Linked DNA regions of Homo sapiens: all the other regions are linked to region 4. The links are contacts of gene promoters, found by promoter capture Hi-C in human tissues and cell types (Jung and others, 2019). All regions are on one chromosome and are shown on one strand. Each heading gives the region's core, a stretch centred on a gene start or on the middle of the fragment in contact. The rest is flanking DNA. Distances are from core to core; before and after follow the strand shown. Region 1 overlaps LINC01007 (long intergenic non-protein coding RNA 1007). Region 2 has its middle 4.2 kb from the start of MYL10. Region 3 has its middle 4.6 kb from the start of IFT22. Region 4 holds the start of SH2B2 (SH2B adaptor protein 2).

Region 1 (3,419 bases), core at 217-2,716, 720 kb after region 4:
ATCCTGGACAGCACCTTAGGATATCTTCGGAGTGAAATTACCAGCTGAATAGTGTGAACATTTTAAAATCTCTTGTGGCATAAACTTAATTTTTTTCCTAGAAATTTTATACCAACTTGTATTTTCACATGTGAGATGAATAGGAATACTCAATTTTACTCCACTCAATGAGATTGAATGCTATAATTATATTTAAACGTTCTTTGATAAGCTATAGGAGAAAATCTCATTGATGTTTTAATGGGCATTTCTTTGATGACCAATGAAGCTGAATATTTAAAAATATTTTATTACATATTTTTATTTCATCTTTTGGGCATTTCTCATTCACTATTTTTCTATTGGACTGTTCATTTTTATTGATTTGTAATTACTTTTTACATATTAGAGGTATTAATCTTTTGTCATATTTCTTGCAACCATTTTATTCTTTTTTGTAGTCTCCCAATAAAATTAACTAAATAATTTTTAAAACAAGGAGATTTAAATTTTATGTATTAAATTCTACCTTAATCTTTGTTATTTTTTCTACTGCTTTTAGGTTTAAAATGTTTCCATGTACCCCCAAGATCAAACATTTGTTTGCTTTTTAATGATTTCCCTTTCTTACATTTAATTCTTTAGGTCCTCTGGAATTTATATTAATGTATGGTGTGAAGGAAAGAGCTAATTTTATTTCCTTCCAAATAGCTAACCAAATGTCCCGGCATCATTTATTGAATAATCCATTTCTTCCCTACAGGTTTGCAACGCCACCTCAGTAAGCTGAGACATGGTAATCGCCATGGCAACGGGGCTGCATTAAAAGCATTGTGCGCACAAAGTGAAAGGCTGCTGCCTGGCAGAGTTCAGTCTGGTCTCACTGCACCTGTTCCCTAATTAAGATGCACCTTTTGGTTTTGTCTTTTGAAAAAAACAAAATGCTCCCTTTATCGCCACGAGGCAAAAGAAAAATTAAGGCCAAGATCCTTTCATGCCCAATATGGGCCTGCCCGGTGGTTGGAGCATGGGGGATCATGGGCAGCAAGTGAGAAAGTGCACAGTGATTTGCTGCTGTTACATCCTGAGAAACTGGAGGGCTGTCATCAAAGTCCTCGAATAGCTGGAGAGTGGGTGTGGGATGGTTACGTTTGAAAATGCAGCTCTGATATAAAAGAAAGCAAAGACTGCACTGTTTTCCCAGCAAGAGCCTAGCTGGAGACTCTAAGCCTAAGATAGAAGCTTCTGCCATCAACAGGCCACAAAACCCATACTTCCTGCTCTATGAGGCTTCTGACCTTGGTTCCCTAGAATCCTCCCTCCTTATCAAGTATCTGTGTCTAGGCCTAGGGGAGACCAGACCGAGGTCTGTCCTTGTCTGCCTACAAGGACAAGGCATTCTACTGCTGTAGACCACTTGTTTATGTGCCCCTAAAATTTGTATGTTAAAGCCTGAATCCCCATTGTGATGACATTTGGAGGTGGGGCCATCGAAAGGTGATTAGGTTTATATGAGTTCATGAGGGTGGGGCCCTCATAATGGTATTAATGTCCTTATAAGAAGAGACACAACAGAGCTTGCTTCCTCTCTCTCTCCCCACCATGTGAAGACACAGCAAGAAGGCGGCCATCTGCAAACCAGAAAGAGAGCCCTCACCAGGAACCGGATCTGCTGGCACCTTGATCTTGGACTTCCTATCCTTTAGAGCTGTGAGAAATGTCGCCCCCAGGTCAATGGGATATTTGTTACAGCACCAGGTACTGCCTGAGAACTCTACCTTTAGGGAGCCTGCGTGCTGGGTCACTGGGGAGACAATGAAGGTGCTTGACACCCAGTTTGAATATTGTGTCACTGCAAAGCTGACTGCTGTTGAAGGATAGCCAGTGAGAGGTCATGGCAAGCCATCAGAAGAAGCAGAAGTCATGAGCATGCTGAAGCTATGAGGCCAAGACAAAATGTCACATTGCCACAAGAAGAGGGACAAACAGGCAACAGGCAGAGCCCATGGGAATCAGTAATCTCCTGCTGACACTGAGGCCTTGGGACTAACTCAGATCCAGTACTACTCTCTTGGGACCTGTTCTGACTCCAGCTCCTGTCCTTGGGGTCCACTGAGATCCCTGTAGCCTTGTAATAAGCCCACATTATCATATTTCCCCTGCCGGCTCCACCCTAGAGCATTTCCAACAATTTCCAGTGCTTTTCCCCTTCTCATACCACTGGGCCTTTGCACGTGCTCGTGCCTCCCCAACTTGCCCTGCCTTCTCCTTCACCCAGACAACTCCTACTAAATCTCTCAGACTCCTCAGCTGTGTCCCTTCCTAGGGGAGGACTCTCTTCCCTCCAGTGAGCCCGGTGGTCCTCCCTGGGATCCCCTGCTCCTTGTCTTCCCTGCCGTCCTTACTGCCATCCTTGTTCTCTACTCAGAAGGAGGCAGAGGCTGGCCTGCCCCCAATCCCCTGTAGACTGACCAGATGAATTGACCTGGGCTGGGCAGGGCAGGCGTGTTTGACCAGTTGTCTGGGCACCCCATGGCTCAGTCAAGTTGACACATAAAGTTCACCGCCCCAGGGCCCCTTCGTTGTATTTGTGTATGAATAAAACACAGCATCCACTCCAGGTATCTGAGGGTCCTGGAGGCAGGTTTTGTGATCCCTTTTTACAGATGAGGATGCGGAGGTCCAGTTGTCACTCACCCAGATCACACTCTCATCTGCTGATGGGAGGAGTATTTGATGGGATGTGTGAGCCCGGCCGTCTCCCTTGGGACACATCAGCTCATTAAATTTGCCAGCCCCTGCCTGAAAAAGTATTTAATTTGCCTTTTACAATGCACCCATTGCAAGTTAATTAACTGGCAATTGAAAGTTATAGGTGGCATTAGAATTTATTAATAACATTGGGAATAAATCTCCCTGGAATTCAATTAACTGAAAACCTCATGAAATTCTTTTTTTATATAATCCATAAAGCCGGTCTGGGAGAGAGGTGTTCCAGAAATCTCGGGGGTGGTGGAAACTGCAGGCGTGGAGGGTTGGAGTGGGGAGGGGGCTGCTGTTCTGATGTAGGCCAGTCTTGGCTCCCACCTGCCCCTGCCCATAACCTCCAACATGGCCTCTTAGGGTCAGGGAAGAAGCCACGCCCCCATCGTGAATGTCCCACCGTGTACCAGTGTCAGGGAAGAAGCCACGCCCCCGTCGTGAATGTCCCGCCTTGTGCCAGTGTCAGGGAAGAAGCCACACCCCCATCGTGAATGTCCTCCATGTGCCAGTGTCAGGGAGGAAGCCACGCCCCCATCGTGAATGTCCTGCTATGTGCCAGTGTCAGGGAAGAAGCCACGCCCCCACCGTGAATGTCCTGCCTTGTGCCAGTGATTCCTTTGCAGTCATTCATCTGCTCTGCACCTGGCCTGAGCTGGGCACGCAGACGTGACCTGGCA
Region 2 (3,572 bases), core at 658-3,157, 650 kb after region 4:
GGGTGCGGTGGCTCACACCTGTAATCCCAGCACTTTGGGAGGCTGAGGCGGGAGGATCGTTTGAGCCCAGGAGTTTGAGGTTAGCCTGAGCAACATAGCGAGACCTCGTCTCTACAAAAGATACACAAATTAGCCAGGCATGGTGGTGTGCACCTGTAGTCCCAGCTACTCGGGAGGTTAAAGTGGGAGGATTGCTTGAGGCTGGGAGGCTGTAGTGAGCCCTGATTGTGCCACTTCACTCCAGCCTAGGCAACAGAGTGAGACCCTGTCTCAAAAAAAAGAAAAAAAAAAAAGAGCAAACAAGATCCAGCCACATGTTCCCAGACCTGGCTCAGAGACCTCATCTACTCACTTTTAGGGTGACTTCCAGTCCCACTGGGCAGAAAAACCCTACCCCTTTCTCCTCCTGTCAGCCATTGATTCTACAGCTTTTTTTTTCTTTTCTTTTCTTTTTTTTTTTTTTTTTTTTTTGAGACAGGGTCTTCCTCCATCTCCCAGGCTGGAGTGCAGTGGTGTGATTTCGGCTCACTGCAACCTCCGCCTCCTGGGTTCAAATGATTCTCCTGCCTCAGCCTCCTGAGTAGCTGGGATTACAGGTGTGTGCCACCACACCCGGCTAATTTTTTTTTTTTTTGTAAGCAGAGATGGGGTTTCACAATGTTAGCCAGGCTGGTCTCGAACTCCTGACCTCAGTGATCCTCCCACCTTGCCTCCCAAAGTGCTTGGATTACAAGCGTGAGCCACCGTGCCTGGCCATCCACAGCTATTTTTACAGCAGGATGCTGTGACCACAGGCCCCTTGAATGGGATGCCTCTCTTGAGCTTCTGTGGGCGAGAGAGCACATTCACCAGCCCGCTGAGCTGCAGCTATAAAACAGGCAAGAGGCATTCCAGGAGGCATTCTTAGTTTAAAGGTTTCTTTGTCTTTTCTAAGTGATCTCCAGTTGGAAGAAGGCTCCAGATGGGACGGGAGCTGGGGAGGAGGGGACACCAGGGGCTTTCGGAAAAGACAGCCCACCGTCTCTAACTGTCAACATCTCAGGCATCCCACCTGGCAATGAGAGAGTTGATGGACATACGAGGCTATTTCCTCTGGCTTAAGGGAGAAAGAGGCGAACTGGCCCTGAGTCAGGGTCTGTCTGAAATGCTATGTGTGGCTGCTCTGGCCTGAGCCGGCCTCTAGTTCTCGGTCGGCTCCAGCCTGTCAGGAGCCTTGATGGCTGCAGGAGCTCAGGGGCTGTGTGCACCCCCAATCTGGAGCCATTTTCTCAATATGTGACAGAGATGGGTAAAGGAGATACAGATGGGGGAGTGGGCAAATGGCATTCTGTGGCTTTGGGTGTTTCCTGTGGACCCAGCCTACTGTGTGTCCTTGGGCCACAGGGTCTAAGGGAAGCCATGGTGCAGGGCTGTGACATTTGGGATGGGGCGAGGGGTCATCCAATGAGTCATGCTGCCCTGGCCAGGCCAGAAAGGGCAGGCCGTGAGGGCGTCTCTCTTCCACTAAGGACACTGGAGCCTTGGCACAGGAAGCACGTTCTGGAAGCCCAACAGAGGCATCTCTTGGCTCAGTGTCTTGTCACAGGCAGCATGTCCTCTGCCAATAACCAGACAGGATTGGTAGCCGCAGTCTACAAGCGCCAGGCATGTAACAAACTTGCCAAGTGAAAACTGATTCCATGTGACAGGTGGAGAAGCTGAGGATTCTGGGAAATTCAGTGATGTGGGTGAGGTCACAGAGCAAGTGGTCCAGCAGGACTTGAAGTCACTTTCATCTGATTTCAAATTCATGCTCTCATCTTCCCCAGAGCCCTGAGGAGTAGACTATGGCTGTGTAGCCTGTCCCCCTACAGAGCACATTTAAATCTCACTGTGATGGTTATTATGATATTTTGTAAAGAATCAGCCCAAAGCACAGCGCATGGTGGCTCATGCCTGTAATCCCAGCAGTTTGGGAGGCCGAAGCGGACAGATCACTTGTGGTCAGGACTTCAAGGCCAGCCTGGCCAACATGGTGAAACCAGTCTCTACTAAAAATACAAAAATTAGCTGGGCGTGGTGTTGGGTGCCTGTAATCCCAGCTACTCGGGAGGCTGAGGCAGAAGAATCACTTAAACCCAGGAGGTGGAGGTTGCAGTGAGCTGAGATCACACCACTATACTCCAGCCTGGGCAACAGAGTGAGACTCTATCTCAAAGAAAAACAAAAAACAAAAAAAAACCCCAAAGCATAGCAGTGTGCTCAGGGGTTCTTATGGATCAGAAATTCAGAAAAGGGATGGTGAGGGTGGCTTGTCATAATGTCTAGGGCCTCAGCTCGGGGGACTCTAAGGATGGGGATGACTCCATGGCTGGTGCCAGAATCACTTGAAGACTGGTCATTCACACGTTTGTTGTCTGGGAGGCTCGGATGATGACTCAAAGGCAGGGACTGCTGACTGGAGTACAGACACGGGGCCTCTTCGTGTGACTTGGTCTTCCCTACAACATGGCCGCCTCATGGTAGTCAGACTCGTCATAGAGTGACTCAGGGCTCCAGCACAAAGTCCCAGCAAATAAGGTAGAAGCTCCATGGCTTTTTGTGACTTAACCTCAGAAGTCACATAGTGACACTTCTACCCTACTTTCTTGGTCAAAGCAGTCACAAAAGCCTGCCTGTTGGCAAGGAATGATGTTATAGATCCCGCCTCTCCATGGAAAAAGTGTCAAAGAATTTGCAGGCATTTTTTACGGCAGCCTGGGATTGCTCAGGGAAGGTCAGAAAGTGGCCTAGGCTCTCAAATTCAGTAGGTAGGTGTGATGGCTAATATTAAGTATCAACTTGATTGGATTGAAGGATGCAAAGTATTGTTTCTGGGTATGTCTGTGAGGGTGTTGGTAGAGGAAATTAACATTTGAGTCGGTGGACTGAGAGAAGCAGACCCACCCTTAATCTGTGTGGGCAGCGTCTAATCAGCCAGTGAGGCCAGAATAAAGCAGAAAGAAGAAAGTGGAATAAGAAGACTCACTGAGTCTTCCAGCCTTCATCTTCTGTGCTGGAAGCTTCCTGCCCTCGAACATCAGACTCCAAGTTCTTCAGCTTTTGAACTCTTGAACTTAAACCAGTGGTTTGCCAGGAGCTCTTGGGCCTTCGGCCACAGACTGAAGGCAGCACTGTTGGCTTCCTTTTGTTTTTGTTGTTTTTTGTTTTTTGTGTTTTCTTTTGAGACACAGTCTCACTCTGTTACCCAGGCTAGAGTGCAGTGGTGCTATCTCAGCTCACTGCAACTTCCACCTCCCAGGTTCAAGCGATTCTCCTGCCTCGGCCTCCCGAGTAGCTGGGATTACAGACGCACACCACCACGCCTGGCTAATTTTTGTACTTTTAGTAGAGACAGCGTTTTGCCGTGTTGTCCAGGCTGGTCTTGACCTCCTGAACTCAGGTGATCCACCCACTTTGGCCTCCTAAAGTTCTGAGATTACAGGCGGGAGCCACCACGGCCGTCCGAGAGGTGTTCTAAAGCAGGCTGGAGACTGATTGTGATGAGTAGGGAAACATACAATGTGGCCAAAGGCTTGGAGGAAGGAGATTTC
Region 3 (3,528 bases), core at 138-2,637, 960 kb after region 4:
ACCGTAAATGCAGTGTGGAGGGTATATCAAGACTTTTTAGGTCATGAGTGTAGTTGGACTTTGCAGCTGCCTGTTTCATGTACTGTAGCCTTCACTTTAAGCAGATAAAATATACAGAATTTTGAGCAAACTAAGTTGGAAAAGCAGGAAATCAGCTCACATTAGCAAGCACAAAATGGCTATATAAAAATAAATTTTAGGCCAGGCATGGTGGCTCATGCTGGGAGGCCGAGATGAGAGGATCACTTGAGGCCAAGAGTTGGAGACCAGCCTGGACAACTTAGGGAGACCTCATCTCTACAAAAAAATGTTTTTTAAAAAAATGGCCAGGCATAGTGGTGCACACCCTGTGGTTCTAGCCACTCGGGAAGTTGAAATGAGAAGATCATTTGCACCCAGGAGCTCGAGGATGCAGTAAGCTATGGTCTCGCCACTGCACTCCAGCCTGGGTGACACAGTGACACCCTGTCCCTAAAAGAAAAAAGAAATTTCAGCAGGCGTGCATCATATGTTAGAGACATTAATTTATCTGCAGTAAGTTAAACATGTAAGTGCTTTCTCCTGGGAGGGCAACGAAGGGAGGCAGAAAAAACCATAAAGTTTTAGTGCTCAAAAGATATAATCAATGTAGCGGGACAGCCCGGCGCAATGGCTCACGCCTGTAATCCCAGCACTTTGGGAGGCCAAGGCAGGTGGATCGCTTGAGTTCAGGAGTTCGAGACCATCCTGGGCAACATGGCAAAACCCCATCTCTACAAAAAATTTAAAAATTAGAGGCTGAGGCGGGCGGATCACGAGGTCAGGAGATCGAGACCATCCTGGCTAACACGGTGAAACCCCGTCTCTACTAAAAATACAAAAAAATTAGCCAGGCGTGGTGGCAGGTGCCTGTAGTCCCAGCTACTCGGGAGGCTGAGGCAGGAGAATGGCGTGAACCCGGGAAGTGGAGCTTAGAGTGAGCCGAGATTGCACCACTGCACTGCACTCCAGCCTGGGGGACAGAGTGAGACTCCATCTCGAAAAAATAAATAAATAAATTAGCTGGGCATGGTGGCATGTACCTGTGGGAGGCTGAGGCACAAGGACTGCTTGAACCTGGGAGGTGGAGGTTGCAATGAACTGAGATCATGCCACTGCACTCCAGTCTGGGTGGCAGAGACAGACCCTGTCTCAAAAAAAAAAAAAATGCAATGGGAAAATTCTGTGGGTGTGGAGACATTAGTCAAAAGCATCATGAGGCCGGTCATGGTGGTTCACGCCTGTAATCCCAGCACTTTGGGAGGCCAAGGCGGGCAGATCACCTGGGGTCGGGAGTTTAAGACCGGCCTGACCAACATGGAGAAACCCTGTCTCTACTAAAAATAAAAAATTAGCCAGGAGTGGTGGCACATGCCTGTAATCCCAGCTACTCAGGAGGTTGAGGCAGGAGAATCACTTGAACCCAGGAGGTAGCGGTTGCAGTGAGCAGAGATCGCGCCATTGTATTCCAGCTTGGGCAACAAGAGCGAAACTCCATCTCAAAAAAAAAAAAAAAAAAAAAAACGCATCACAAAAATATTCTAAAGGCCTATGAGTGCTATAAGTGATCACAGCTATCAGATATCAACCATCTGTCATGTGCCGGGAATTAGACTAAATAACTTGCATGCCTCATCACATTCAATCCTCGTAACAACCCTATAGGATTAGTTTTAGGATCCTCAGTTTAGTTTATTTTGTTTTATTTTATTTTTGTGAGAGTCTCACTCTATTGCCCAGGCTGGAGTGCAGTGACACGATCTTGGCTCACTACAACCTCTGCCTCCTGGATTCAAGCAATTCTAGGATCCCCATTTTAGTGAGAGAAAAACTGAGGCTTGGCTAATTTTATAATTTTTTTTTTTTTTTGAGAGGAAGTTTTGCTCTTGTCGCCCAGGCTGGAGAGTGCAGTGGTGCAACCTTGGCTCACTGTAACAGTTGCCTCCTGGGTTCAAGAGATTCTCCTGCCTCAGCCTCCCGAGTAGCTGGGATTACAGATGTGCACCACCACGCCCGGCTAATTTTTGTATTTTTAGTAGAGACGGGGTTTCACCATGTTGGCGAGGCTGGTCTTGAACTCCTGACCTTGTGATCTGCCCGCCAGCCTCAGCCTCCCAAAGTGCTAGGATTATAGGCGTGAGCCACTGTGCCAGGTCTAAACCTCTTTTCTTTATAAATTACCCAGTCTCAGGTATGTGGTTGTTTTTGTTTGTTTGTTTGTTTGTTTGTTTTGTTTTGTTTTGTTTTGAGACAGGGTCTCGCTCTTGTTGCCCAGGCTGGAGTGCAATGGTACAATCTCGGCTCACTGCAACCTCCACCTCCTGGGTTCAAGCGATTGTCCTGCCTCAGCCTCCCAAGTAGCTGGGATCACAGGCATCTGCCACCACACCTGGCTAACTTTTGTATTTTTAGTAGAGACGGGGTTTCACCATGTTTGCCAGGCTGGTCTTGAACTGCTGGCCTCGAGCGATCTGCCCGCCTTGGCCTCCCAAAGTTCTAGAATTACAGGTGTGAGCCACCACACCTGGCCTCACTCACCTACTTTCAAATTGTCTTACTCCAAAATCGGTACTCTTTCCATGGCACAACACCACCTCCCAAAATCCCTTCTACAGGACACGGCCAAATGCAGGCTATAGGCTCCTGGTCCAGCCATATCCCTGTTTCACTGCTTTGCCAAAAGCTTTATCTTCAGTTGGCTGGGAAATATTTTTTATATTGAAAGTATAGCTCAGGCTTTCTAATGAGAATTGATGAAAAGTTGATCATTTTTTGTCCTAAATTGATTTTGTCCATCATTGATTTTGTCCTAAACCAAACTTGCTGGACATCATCTCTGGCTACAGCTTTATTCCTTTTTTTAAATTAAAAAAAAAAAAAGATGACAGCATTCATAGGGGACAAAATATTTCCAGGTTACAAACCATCTGGTAAAATTCCTGTCTTCAAGAGTTGAACGGAAAAGGTTCAAATCCTCCCGCTGCAGGAGAAGGTAATTGAAGGGCATTTGATTCCCTTGAGTCACGGGAAACCCACAATTTATTCTTTAGTAATAAAAACTGCATGTGTAATCATTGAGACCGTGGAGGGTCAACTCAAAGACTTTATGGCTGGGGGTTATATTAAATCTTTTCAAAAATTTATAGAAGGGATTTGAAATATGTCAAACTTATTTCTTTAGGTTTTTTGCAAGAGAAAGATTTTATTGCATTGAATCACAGAAGGAGGAGAAAAATGACCGAGTTCACCCAGTTCTCACCCCCGCTAATGATCTATTGCTCACTTTACAATCAAAGCCTGGGTATTAAGCTGTCTGAAGTCAACCTCTTCTAATTAAAATGAAAGTCATAAAGCAAAAGTATTTCAATAATTTACAATAATCATCCCAAATGTATACAGCACATATATTGAAGAAATGTAACGCATTTCATATTTTTTATTTCTCTCACCTGGGCCAAAAACTAAAGGTTCTTGGCAAGATTAAGGGAACATTCATTAACTTAAATATTT
Region 4 (3,292 bases), core at 488-2,987:
GTATAGAAGTCCTCCCTAGGAGATTCACGCTAAGTAGGGAAGAGGGATTTAGAAACTTCAGACAGATTTTTCACAACAAGGGTAAAAAGAAAAGCGTGTGCATTAACCCTTGATTACCTAGAAGCATTCAACCAAGCAGCATCAGAAGCCGGCCTGCCACGGGGTGGGGCTGTTCTTGTATGTTGGTAGGACAGACCTCTAAGGAAGTAGCTGGTGGGAAACTGTCTCTGAGACCCCCAAAAATGCCCTGATCCACACTAGCCTAAAAGAAGTGCCACCACCGCCACCACCAGACCTCTCCCAAAGCTCCTGGAGCTGAAAAGTTCTAGGTCACTCTCCCAACCTCTTCCTGCGTGGAGTGGGGAGGCCAGGAGGGAAGAGGTTGGGAGAGTTCAAGGTGGGACACAGTAGTGGGGGCTTCAGCTCAAGAGGCAGTCAAAACCTCTTGGGGAAACCACACCCCCTGCCCCCAGTCCTCCCAGAGGAGCTCCAGGGACCTGACTCTGGGACGCAATTCCTGCCGGGAGTTGCCGGTCCCTTAGCCAGGAGGCAGGCAGCACCATCCCATTTTACAGGGTAGGTGATGTTGGCTCGGGGGCATTGGTAGGGCTCCACCCAGGTCTGACAGCCTAGCCTGAGGCTCTCCCTTGCACTAGCTCGAAGTGCACGTAGATCCTGGCTTATTCGTGTTCAGAGTCTCGCCTGGGGCTGCCCGGTCTGCCTTGCGTGGCTCCTGAGAGGCTCCAGTCACTGCAGACTTCCCTCCCTGAAGGCCCCCACTTCGGGGCTGCAGGGGGCCAGGATGCGTCCCTGCCTCTGCCCGGCTTCAGCCCGCTGGGCTGGCGCGGTTCCGGCCCGCGCAGCCCGCAGGTTCATCAATGGCCGAGGCCCAAGGGCCTGAATGGAGGGCACGAACCCGCCCCTTCTTAAAGGCGCCGGCCTCTTGGGCACCCTCCACGATCCTCCCGGCAATCGGGGGCTCCGGGGAGCTCCCCGGCTGGGCAGGTCGAGAAAGGGGGGCCTGGGCCAAAGGGAGGGCGTGCCTGTGGCCTGGAGGAGGTCCTCCCCGATCCCATCCCGTGGCCCTCACCCTCATTCTAGGTTGACGCCCCCTCCCAGCGCTCCCAGCGTAGGGAAGAGACCTGGGCACCCCTTCCCCCAACCAGAGACCCCTCCTCTAAGGACCCGGCTGCTCTCGCCCCACTACCCGGCCGGGGCCCTAGCAGGGGGCGGGGGCGCAGCTGCTCCAGAGGCGGCTCGGCCCCTCCAGCGGCTCCCCGCCCCGCCCGGGATGGGGATCGGGGAGCAGATCCCAGCCGGGGGCGCCTCCCCTCCCTCGCGCGCCCTCCTCCCTCCCACCCGCGCACACAAAGACGACACGCGCGGACCAAGGCGCGTGCGGCCGCTCTCCTTCGGGCAGCGGTGCGCACACAGCGCACGTCCCCGGGGACAGACAGGGGTCCCGGGGGAAGGACCAGGGAGCGAGGAACTGGGTATAAGGAGGCCATACCTACAGGCGCGCAGCTGCGGCCGAGCGGGCTGGGGCGCCGGCTGAGCGCTGCCCGGACCGCGGCCGGGCTCCCCGGGCCCGGTGGCTCATGGCCCGCGGCGGACTGGGCTCCCTCCCTCGTTCACCGCCTCGAAGGCTCCTGCGCTCCTCGCGGTCCCGGCGCGTCCCCCGCGCGGCTCTCTGGCAGCCGAGCTCCGCGCGCTCCAAGCCCAGCCCCAGCGCGGCGCGCCCCTCCGCCCGCGAGGCGCGCGCCTCCCGGCCCCGCCCCGCCCCCGCCCCCGCCGCGAGCCCCGGCCCCGCCCCCCCTCGCGCGTCCTGGCCCCGCCCCCTCCCGCCCCCACTTGCGCCGCTCAGGCCCCGCCCCCGGCCATCCGCGGAGCCCGAGCGGCGCCGGTGGCCGGTGCTTGCTGGCTCCCCGCAGCTGCGGTGCCGAGACTGCCCGGTCCTGGGGCCCGGAGAGAGGGGTTAGGAGCCGGCTCCGAGTCGCCCCATCTGGGCGGGGGTCCCCATGTCGCCGAGCCGGCCCCAGGCCAGGCGCGGGACTCCCACTCCTCCTCGTGGAGGCCACCCCTCGAGCCCGCGGTGGTGGTGGCCCCGGGAGCGCGGAGCGTGGGGCCGGGGGAATGTCCTGCGTGGCGGGTGTATGGGACGCGGACGCCCTCGAAGCGCCCCTCGCTGACGGGTGCTTCGCGGGAGCCGCCGCTGTGGCCAGACTCTCCGCAGCAGGGACAATGGGAGCCTGGAGGAGGCCTGGATGTCGCAACGGAGGAAGTCGACGCCTGGTTCTCATAAATCTCGAGGGCGCCACCACGCCCCCTCCCTGCAGCCCTCCGGTGCGGGAAATCGCCCCCGGGCCACAGGGCGGGACGGCCCCCCTGAGCGCAGTGCCCCCACCACCCAGCCTTCGCTGTGATGGGGGCCTGATGCCACCCGGAGAGGTGTCAGAGATCATAGAGGGGCGATGAGGGGCCACAACCCTGGCACCTTCCTCACCCCTGCCTGGCTCCAGAACTCGCCTGCTTTAGGGCAGAGACCAGTGGGGCTGAGGAAACAGTCCCGCTGGGCTTTGCGGGGCATTTGTAGCCTGACCCCTGGTGCTGAGGGCACAGCGCGGGGGCTCTGGGAGGCTTCCTGAAAGAGGTGCAGGGGGCTCAGCAGGCCTGGAAGGGGTCTGAGAGGGGAGGGAGGGCTTCGGTGGGGGCAGAGGTGTGGAAAGGGCCGCTCAGAGAAGAGAGTAGTCTTGCTCCTGGAGATAGCAGGGGGGGACCCCTGGGTGTCTTCTCCCCTCATCTCCCTCCTTGTCCCCTGCCCCCACCTCTGGCAGTTCTGTCCTGGTCTCCTTGCCAGCCGGAGCTGCCTCCATCTGTCGCCCTCCCGGGCCCAAACTGACCTCTGACTTTTCCCAGAGCCATTTCCCATCTCTAATTTACAGACAAGGGTTTTTATCAAACCCTTCTTAGGGATGGAAAGGTGGGGCTTCCAGAGTTGAAGGTGGAGGGGACAGAGCCTTCACCTGCTGCCCAAAACCCCGGTGCTGCCCTCCACGGGGGCACGGAAGACAGGCAGACCCCTTCCCTGCCCCACATCTCGGCTCTGTTCCCTCCGCAGGACCAGGCCAGCAGACACTTTAATGAAAGCTTCGGCAGTGGGCCAGCCCTCGATCGGAGCTGCACACAGGCCTGCACGCCTGGTTGGGAACCAGGACACCTATGAATGAGGCCGGGAAGGGGGAGGAGGGGGTGCCCGAGAGTGGGAGAAAGGGAAGCTCCATACATGGCCTGG

Evidence for each region. Contacts are between HindIII fragments. The study calls those that stand out against the background at their distance.
Region 1: a fragment that was not itself captured here is called in contact with the fragment with the promoter of SH2B2 in region 4 in 2 of the 25 tissues and cell types used here (lymphoblastoid cells and spleen).
Region 2: a contact is called between a fragment that was not itself captured here and the fragment with the promoter of SH2B2 in region 4, in 3 of the 25 tissues and cell types used here (lymphoblastoid cells, mesendoderm cells and spleen).
Region 3: a contact is called between a fragment that was not itself captured here and the fragment with the promoter of SH2B2 in region 4, in 1 of the 25 tissues and cell types used here (dorsolateral prefrontal cortex).

The regions. Positions count from the first base shown.
Region 1 is chr7:101,564,804-101,568,222 of GRCh38, reverse strand. LINC01007 (long intergenic non-protein coding RNA 1007) reads left to right here. Exons shown (of 3, transcript NR_103749.1): 2 at 1,590-1,737. Among named protein-coding and RNA genes, the nearest start is that of LINC01007, 2.5 kb to the left of the region's middle. RefSeq lists an enhancer at 2,639-3,419. The HindIII fragment of the contact is 8,608 bases long and covers 1-3,419 here.
Region 2 is chr7:101,631,742-101,635,313 of GRCh38, reverse strand. No RefSeq gene overlaps it. Among named protein-coding and RNA genes, the nearest start is that of MYL10, 4.2 kb to the right of the region's middle. The HindIII fragment of the contact is 5,470 bases long and covers 1-3,572 here.
Region 3 is chr7:101,324,675-101,328,202 of GRCh38, reverse strand. No RefSeq gene overlaps it. Among named protein-coding and RNA genes, the nearest start is that of IFT22, 4.6 kb to the right of the region's middle. The HindIII fragment of the contact is 3,914 bases long and covers 1-3,344 here.
Region 4 is chr7:102,285,313-102,288,604 of GRCh38, reverse strand. It overlaps SH2B2 (SH2B adaptor protein 2), which reads right to left and starts at 1,737. Exons shown (of 9, transcript NM_001359228.2): 1 at 1,511-1,737. RefSeq lists an enhancer at 1-79 and silencers at 1,230-1,769, 1,840-2,419. The HindIII fragment of the contact is 12,688 bases long and covers 1,085-3,292 here.